Regions from separate parts of the Homo sapiens genome. Here regions 1 and 2 are each linked to region 3. The links are contacts of gene promoters, found by promoter capture Hi-C in blood cells and fetal thymus (Javierre and others, 2016). All regions are on one chromosome and are shown on one strand. The core of a region is centred on a gene start or on the middle of the fragment in contact, and the rest is flanking DNA. Distances in the headings are between cores, read along the strand shown.

What was found. The method cuts DNA at HindIII sites, captures the fragments that hold promoters and counts their contacts. A CHiCAGO score of 5 or more calls a contact.
Region 1: a contact is called between a fragment that was not itself captured here and the fragment with the promoter of PPIL1 in region 3, in 1 of 17 cell types (total CD8 T cells). The highest score is 5.3, in total CD8 T cells.
Region 2: a fragment that was not itself captured here is called in contact with the fragment with the promoter of PPIL1 in region 3 in 5 of 17 cell types (erythroblasts, activated CD4 T cells, naive CD4 T cells and 2 more); the score reaches 7.0 in erythroblasts.

What each region holds. Positions count from the first base shown.
Region 1 is chr6:37,260,419-37,263,143 of GRCh38, reverse strand. The region is part of intron 1 of TBC1D22B (TBC1 domain family member 22B); the gene reads right to left. Among named protein-coding and RNA genes, the nearest start is that of TMEM217B, 3.6 kb to the right of the region's middle. The HindIII fragment of the contact is 192 bases long and covers 1,211-1,402 here.
Region 2 is chr6:37,237,281-37,239,980 of GRCh38, reverse strand. All of the region lies in intron 1 of TMEM217B (transmembrane protein 217B), which reads left to right. All of the region lies in intron 1 of TMEM217 (transmembrane protein 217), which reads left to right. Among named protein-coding and RNA genes, the nearest start is that of TBC1D22B, 19 kb to the left of the region's middle. The HindIII fragment of the contact is 2,221 bases long and covers 205-2,425 here.
Region 3 is chr6:36,873,386-36,876,085 of GRCh38, reverse strand. It overlaps PPIL1 (peptidylprolyl isomerase like 1), which reads left to right and starts at 1,283. Exons shown (of 4, transcript NM_016059.5): 1 at 1,283-1,369. The coding sequence starts at 1,314. It also overlaps a transcript of C6orf89 not described here. RefSeq lists an enhancer at 1,063-1,292. The HindIII fragment of the contact is 9,401 bases long and covers 1-2,700 here.

The DNA.
Region 1 (2,725 bases), core at 57-2,556, 390 kb before region 3:
CACATACCAGCAGGCACTTAACAATATTTAGTAAGTGAAGATTAGATCTCTACAAAACCTAGGCCTCCACTTAAGCTAGACCTAAAAACCAGAGGTTAGTTAACACACTGCATCTCGAAGAAATCACACCACATATGCAGAGAAAAGAATGCCATGGAATATGCTGCCACGCAGACAAAATGGAACAAAAGTTCTGATTAATCTCCGTCACTCTCTTTAATAAAACCAACACCATAGAATGTATTGACATAGCTGTTTTGCCTAGTTGAAACAGTGCAAACATCTTGGTAGGAAAAATCAACAGGTGTTTGTTTAGCACTGATAAAAGAGCTAGTGCAAATATGGGAAAAAGACCCATCAAATTTAAATGCCAAACGTGTTGGCAACTGATGTAGGTTCACACACTCACTCCACATTAGTCTTCCAGAACAGGTGATCTATGCTGTTTCGATGATAATTTAGTATCTTCTAGTCACTCACTCTACCAGTAAAACATCTCCAAGCCAAGAACAAGTTGTAATGTACCTGCCCAGACAGGCTGTGACTTTTACACTAAGTCTCCTATCAGATTCATTATTATTTTAGGATCGGCTTCAAGTTCTTAACTTGGCCTCTCTTTCTAACAACGAAGGGCCTGGAAGACTCAGGTAATTTCGATTTTGGCCAGACGCAGAGGCTCATGCCTGTAATCCCAACACTTTTGGAGGATGAAGTGGGCAGACTGCTTGAGCCCAGGAGTTCATGACCAGCCTGGGCAACATGGCAAGACCTGTCTCTACAAAAAATACAAAAATTAGCCAGGGCTGGGCACGGTGGCTCACACCTATAATCTCAGAACTTTGGGAGGCTGAGGTGGGCTTGAGGTCAAGAGATCACTTGAGGTCAAGAGTTCAAGACCAGCCTGGCCAACATGGCGAAACCCCCTTCTCTACTAAAAATACAAAAATTAGCTGGGCATGGTGGCATGTGCCTGTAATCCCAGCTACTCAGGAGGCTGAGGCAGGAGACTCGTTTAATCCTGGGAGGTAGAGGCTGCAGTGAGCTGAGATCGTGCCACTGCACTCCAGCCTGGGCAACAGAGGGAGACCCCATCTCAAAAAAAAAAAAAAAAAGGTGATTTTTTTTTTCTCCTGTGCCCGAGCTCTAGACACACACACACACACACACACACACACACACACACACACACACACACACACTGACCAAAGCTTTTTTATTTTTCCCCCATAGGTTTGTGCCACCAAGCCCAGATAATTTTTTTGTGTGTTTTTAGTAGAGACGGAGATTCACCATGTTGGCCAGGCTGGTCTCGAACTCCTGACCTCAAATGATCCACCTGTCTCAGCCTCCCAAAGTGCTGGGATTACAGGTGTGAGCCACCACACCCAACCAGATCAAAGCTTTTCAATTTCAGTTTCAAAAACTGAAGCAAGGAGAGAAAACAAAAATGATAGCTACTATCATCGTAACTATCCTTCTTATAATAGCTAATATTATTGTGTACCTCCTAACCAATTATTATGTATTATCTCATTTAATCCTCATAACAGCCCCATGGAGCAGATACTCTGTCCCTATTTTAGAGATGGGGAGACTGATGCATTGAGAGGTTAATTAAATCCCATAAGATCACATAGCTAGAAAGCAGAGCTGGGATTTTAACCTAGGCAGTCAGATTTCAGAGCCTGCATTTTTTTTTTTTTTTTTTTTTGGAGACAATCTCTTGCTCTGTTGCCCAGGCTGGAGTGGAGTGACGCAATCTCAGTTCACTGCAACCTCCGTCTCCCAGGTTCAAGAGATTCTTGGGCATCAGCCTCCTGAGTAGCTGGGACTACAGGCACACACCACCAAGCCCAGCTAATTTGTATTTTTAGTAGAGATGGGGGGTTTCACCACGTTGGCCAGGCTGGTCTCGGACTCCTGGCCTCAAGCGATCCACCTGCCTCAGCCTTCCAAAATTCTGGGATTACAGGCCACCACACCTGCCAAAGCCTGCAATGGTAGAGATTGCCTCTTATCTTCTAGGCATTAATACAATGACCATTTGATGTGCTAAGTAAATGGGGCTCATGTGAATAACTGAGAGAACTTAAAAGATGCTTAGTTCCACCAAGTTACTACATGACCCAGCAATTCCACTCCTATTTATCAGCAGAAGAATAGAAAATATATATCCAAACAAAAACCTCTGCATAAATGTTCATAAAAGCATTACGTACAATAGCCCAAAAGTGAAAACAATTCAAATATCCATCAACTGATGAATGAACAAAATGTGGTGTATGTATACTATGGAATATTATTCAGCCATAAAATGGAATGAAGTACTGATACATACTACAGCGTGGACAAGCCTGAAATCACTGTGCTTAATAAAAGAAGCCACTCACAAAAGGCCTCAGATCATATTACTCCATATATATAAAATGTCCAAAAGTGGTAAATCCACAGAAACAGAAAGTAGGTTAGTAGTTACCAGGGTCTGGAGTGGGGTGGATGGGGAGTGACTGTAAACAGGTATGTAGTTTCTTTTCAGGATGATGAAAATGTTCTGAAATTAGTGGTGATGGTTGCACAAAACCATCTATACTATAAATGAATATACTAAATACCACTGAATTGTACACTTTAAAAGAGTGAATTTTATGGTATGTGAATTATATCTCAATAAAGCTGTTATTTTTAAAAAGAATGTTTCATTCATTTGCAACTTCTTTTATTTAAT
Region 2 (2,700 bases), core at 66-2,565, 360 kb before region 3:
GAAGAAAATAAATTTCTAGTTGTTTAAACTACTATTGTTTGAGTCTCTGTTCCTTGCAGCCAAATGCATTCTTCTTTTTTTTTTTTTTTAATGAGCTGGGGTCTCACCATGTTGCCCAGGCTGGTCTGAAACCCCTGGGCTTAAGTGATCCTCCTATTTAAGGGGAGGATCTTAACCGATATAGATGAATTAGGCTCTAAAGCTTTATAATGTGTTCGTTGTCATTGTTATTTTCCTCCCTAACCCAGTGTTGCAAGAGATCCATCTGAAATGAGTTGGCAGCAACATATTCTACTGAGATCACAAGTCAACTTGATGAGAGCAATTGAAAATAAAAAGTTCTTACCATGATTGAGTAAATCTAAGGTGCCGTCAACTGCAAAATGCATCATTATCTTAGGTACCACTGAAATACAAATATCATTAATTACACTATGCTTCAATGCTTTCTCATATCTTAGAATTTTATTTACTTATTTATTTATTTATTTATTTATTTATTTTTTAAGACAGAGTCTTGCTCTGTCACCCAGACTGGAGTTCAGTGGCACGATCATGGTTCACTGCAGCCTCGGCCTCCTGGGCTCAAGCAGTCCTCCCAAGTAGCTGGGACTACAGGCGTGGCCACCAAGCCCAGCTAATTTTTGTATGTTTTGTAGAGATGGGTTTTTGCCATCTTGCCCAGGCTAGTCTCAAACTCCTGGGCTCAAGTGATATGCCCACCTTGGCCTCCCAAACTGCTGGAATTATAGGCATGAGCCACTGTGCCCAGCCCATGACTGAATTTTTATTGTATGCTTATCAAAATAATTTTTAATACTTATTTAGACATACGGCTTTTGTTTTTGTTTTGGAGACAGAGTCTGTGTCACCCAGGCTGGAGTGCAGTGGCATGATCTCGGCTCACTGCAACCTCTCCACCTCTTAGGTTCAAGTGATTCTCATGCCTCAGCCTCCCTAGTAGCTGGGATTACAGGCATGTGCCAACATGCCTGGCTAATTTTTGTATTTTTAGTAGAGACAGGGTTTCACCCTGTTGGCTGGCTGGTCTTGAACTCCTGACTTCAGGTGATCTGCCTGCCTTGGCCTCCTAAACTGCTGGGATTACAGGCGTGAGCCACCATGCCCAGCCTAGACATAGATTTTTTAAAATCATATATCAATACTTAGAAGAATACTCAACCTCAAGAGTAACCAATAAAATGTAAAAAGTAAGTCTCTCCCTTTCATGTTGGCATCCTTAGCCTACTTGTTTTTGTCTTCATGCTTGTTGCTTCAGTAACAAAATAGCTGCTGAGGCTGCAGGCATCACACCACATTCAAGGCAAGAAAAAGGAAGAAGTGAGAATGGTGCCAGCCACATCATCTTCTCTTACCAGGAAAGGCAAAAGTCTTCCTAGATCTTCCAGCAGGTTTCTGCTTATATGTCATTTGCTAGAACTGTGTGCCATGAACACCCTGGATACAAGCAAAAACCTGGAAAAGCACATATTTTGCCTGGGTCTGGGCTCATTGCCATCCTGAGAGAAAGCAGACTTCTGGTAGCAAAGAAGGTGGAAATAGGTATTGGGAAGGAAGCTAACGGTGTCTGCTACAACACAGCTTAATAAATAGTAGTTTTATATGCATAATAAATAGTAGCTACTCCTTGGCATAAAGTAAAAATAATGATAACAAAAATACTTACATAATTATATTGTGTAAGTGCTTACTATGTGCCAGGAACTGTTCTGAATGTTTTAAATATGTTAACTCATTTAATCTTCACAGCAATTTTGTGAGGTAAATGTTACTATCCTTGGTTTTTTTTTTTCAGTGTTTTTAATTCTACTTTATATACATACAATTAGATTGATCATAATCCCTGGTTCATGACATACCCTCATTGGTCCATGCATGGCTCTCTTTTGTTTACTTTTTAAATATTAGTTATTGTAAATAATATATAGACACCTTCAAATCCCCTGTCCAAAATAAAATTAGTGTCTGGTCAGCAATTTGCATCTGGCTGTATGGTACCCCCAACACATTTTACTTCCTCCCCTGGCCAAGGTGATCATCATCCAGAATTCTGAGCTCATTATCCTTCACTTTGCTTTTCATACAGTTTTAGAGTTTTCTTGCATCTATATAAAGTCCTAAAAATATGTGTGTGTAGTGTGTGTGTATATATATAGAGAAAGATGGTTGTTTTTAACTGTATGTCTTTAGTACTTTTTTCACTTGATATTACATTGTTAAGATTCTACCATATTGTTGTATGTTGCTACAGTTGTTCCTTTTGACTCCTGTTTAACACTCCCATTGTGCAAATATGTAGCAGTTTATTCATCCTGAAACCATTCTTTACTGAAGTGCCTATAACATTCTTATTGATTTTCTCTTTTCTGGTTATTAACTGGTCTAATTCTGTTACATTCAAGCTTTGCATATGATTCTAGCAGTTTTCCAATATCCTTTTTAATGTCTGCATGAAGTCCTGAATCTTCTGCAAGACTTGCAATAATTTCTTGCAAACGACTTGCCTTGTGTTGTGTGTTGTCAGATATTTACAGTGGGCTACCAGAGAGAGGCTGACCAATAAAGATTTTGACTTGATGGGGTCTTGGTGCACACAGAGAGCCCTTCATTTCAGCAAGGAGGAATGTTGCAGGACTGAGGGAGGCAGAGAATGTCAATTCACTTGTGAATATTTTCTTG
Region 3 (2,700 bases), core at 34-2,533:
TGAACTTGAAACTGCAGGAGGTGTAAAAATTATACTTTAGCATTTATCAGTTTAAAATGTAGTGTTCCGTTCATTATTCATTCAGCAAAGCTGAGCACCCTGTGCTCTGTACTGTGCAAGAAGAGCACAAAGATGAAGGAGGCCCAGCTCCTCTCTCAAGGAGCTGTCTAGTTTATCTTTACAACCTTGTACATCCTTATTCCTTGTTGACAATTAGGGACATTACAGTTGAACTGTCGTTAAGAGCACAAGTGCACCAGCTGTAGTACTTTAAGCAAGTTATTTAATCTGTAAGGCTCAGCTTCCTCAAAGTAAAATGGGAATAGTAATATCTACCTTGTGGGATTTTGAAGATTAAGCGTGAAAATACGCAATAAAATGCTTAGCTTGATGCCTGGCACATGGTAAACATTCAACCATCATTATTAAGTGGTGTGCAAAGCATTTACAGCGTTAAGTTTAGGTACTCTATTTCATTTTTGTCCTCCCTCCAAACATTATAGCTCCTCTAATTTGCTTCTGTTCCTCGCGCCCTGCGCAAACCCTCCTAACAACTTTCAGGTACCATCTATCCCAGCCAATGTTAAGCCTTGTTCTTGCTCTGATCCGTTTGTCCTGTTTTCTCCTGTCTCTTCCTTTCTTTATCTCCTATTTTCTTCCTGCCCCTTCCCTCTCTTTTCTCCTCAGACTCCTCGTCTTTGGATTCTGCAGGCTCAGATTTGCTTTATGACTATGGAAAAACAAGTATTAACTGCCGAGTCTATTTTCAGATCTGAAAAATGGTAATAATACTATCTACTTATAGAATTGTTTTGTGGAGTAGATGAGATAAGAAAGTGCAAGCACTGTGTACATCGTACAGCGCCTTACAAAAATTCTTTACTGGCATCTCTAAACTACCCTCTTTCATTCTCTGCCTCCCCTTCCCGTCCCTGCCCAATTGTGAGACTAAGAAATTCTTCGAATTTAATATTAGGACATAACTCCAACCAGAGCGCAGCTTTTCTGGTTGTTCCCGCCTTCCATGCCTAAACGAACCAATCAGATCGCCCAGAGTGGCGCGGTATCGCCACTTGGAGACCACCGCGAATGAAGTTTGCATTTTCCTCTGTTCTTGAGCCCAGCTTCTTCTCGTCTCCCACCCCAGCTTCCCGGCATTGGAAGAAGGGACCGTCCTCTTCCTTGTCTTGGCCACCCAAATCCTGGTATCGAAAGGGTTGAACGGACCGGAAGTGTGCAGCAGCGACGGGTCCCCAGCTAATCGACGCCGGAAGTAGCAATTACTAGACAAGCATTCCGCCGCCGGCTTCGCTATGGCGGCAATTCCCCCAGATTCCTGGCAGCCACCCAACGTTTACTTGGAGACCAGGTGAGGGGGTTCGGGCGTCTGGGGCTGGCAGAGGAGACGCGGAGCCCGGGCCTCACCACGGGTCTGCGTTCCTGGCGCGTTCCTCCGGGAGGCCGGCCTCCACGTGGAGGGGCGTGGAGCAGCGGCCGAGACGGCCCCCAGAGGGTTGAGAGGGGACCGCCATCGCCCGCGTCCAAGCTCCGCGGGGTCTTGTGCTGAGGTCTCAGCAATAGCTGCCTGATTGTCCTCCTTCCCCCAGTCCGCTCATTCATTCATTCATTCATTCAACAAACGTGTAATGAGTCCGCAAGCCAGGCATATGGAATATGAGTTCTGAGGATACAGAGGTAGATAAAACACAGACAGCCCTGCCTTTAGGAGCTTACGGTATAATGAAAGAGACAGACATGTAAACATTACGTGATAAGTAATACAGTTGTAGAAACAAATTCCAGTAAAATACAGGAAGAAGCACATTTTCCCCACTATCAAAGAGTGATGTGGTAACCAACCTGCTGGCGCCATGCCCCGCTGTATGTCATCTCATTTAGTTTAATCTTAGCAACTCAAATCATGAAGGTATTATTTAACTTTCTCCCTTTCAATATTAGCAGGAGGAAACGCCGGAATTTACAGCTTAAAGCCTTGACCAAAGCCACACAGCTAGTAACTGGAAGAACCTCGTTTGGAGCCTGGTGTGCTCGTCTCACCTTGCTAGATCCTTTAGCTCTATTCATTCCATTGCCTCTTTGGAAAAAGCTCAAAGTGATCTTTACAAAGTAGGACAAGGAAGGGATCCTGCTCAAAAAACCTTTAATAACGTCTTGCTGCTATAACAGTATAAAGTAAAAACGTATTAATCCTGACATTCAAGGTGATTTTTTTCATCTGGCCCTTGTCTACCTGCCATTCTCCCCTCAACAGCCAGGGACCAGCCAAGGTCCTCTGCCTTTCTGTTCTTGCCCATTGCTGCTTTCAGCTAAAGCAGAGTTCTGTCAGTCCTCTCTCTATTTGCTCATGCTGTTCATTTCATGCTCCCTGGCCATCTTCCCCACCTTATATGGCAAAATTCTACATCTTCAGGCTCCAACCTGTAATTTCTGAATTCTCCTGTTGGTATTTTTTAAAGTTACAAAATAAATTGTTAAATCCAAGCAATGTAGACATACAGAGTAAGAAGTGAAAGTCACCTCCTTCCTGAAAACACCATCAACAGTTTGTTGGATGATTGTCCAGACTTTTTTCTATGTACATATAAACCTCTCTCATGTTTTTTTAACAAAAAAATGGGATCATATGATCATACTGTATGTATGTTTTTTCTGTAACTTGGTTTTCTTTCACTCAGTAAT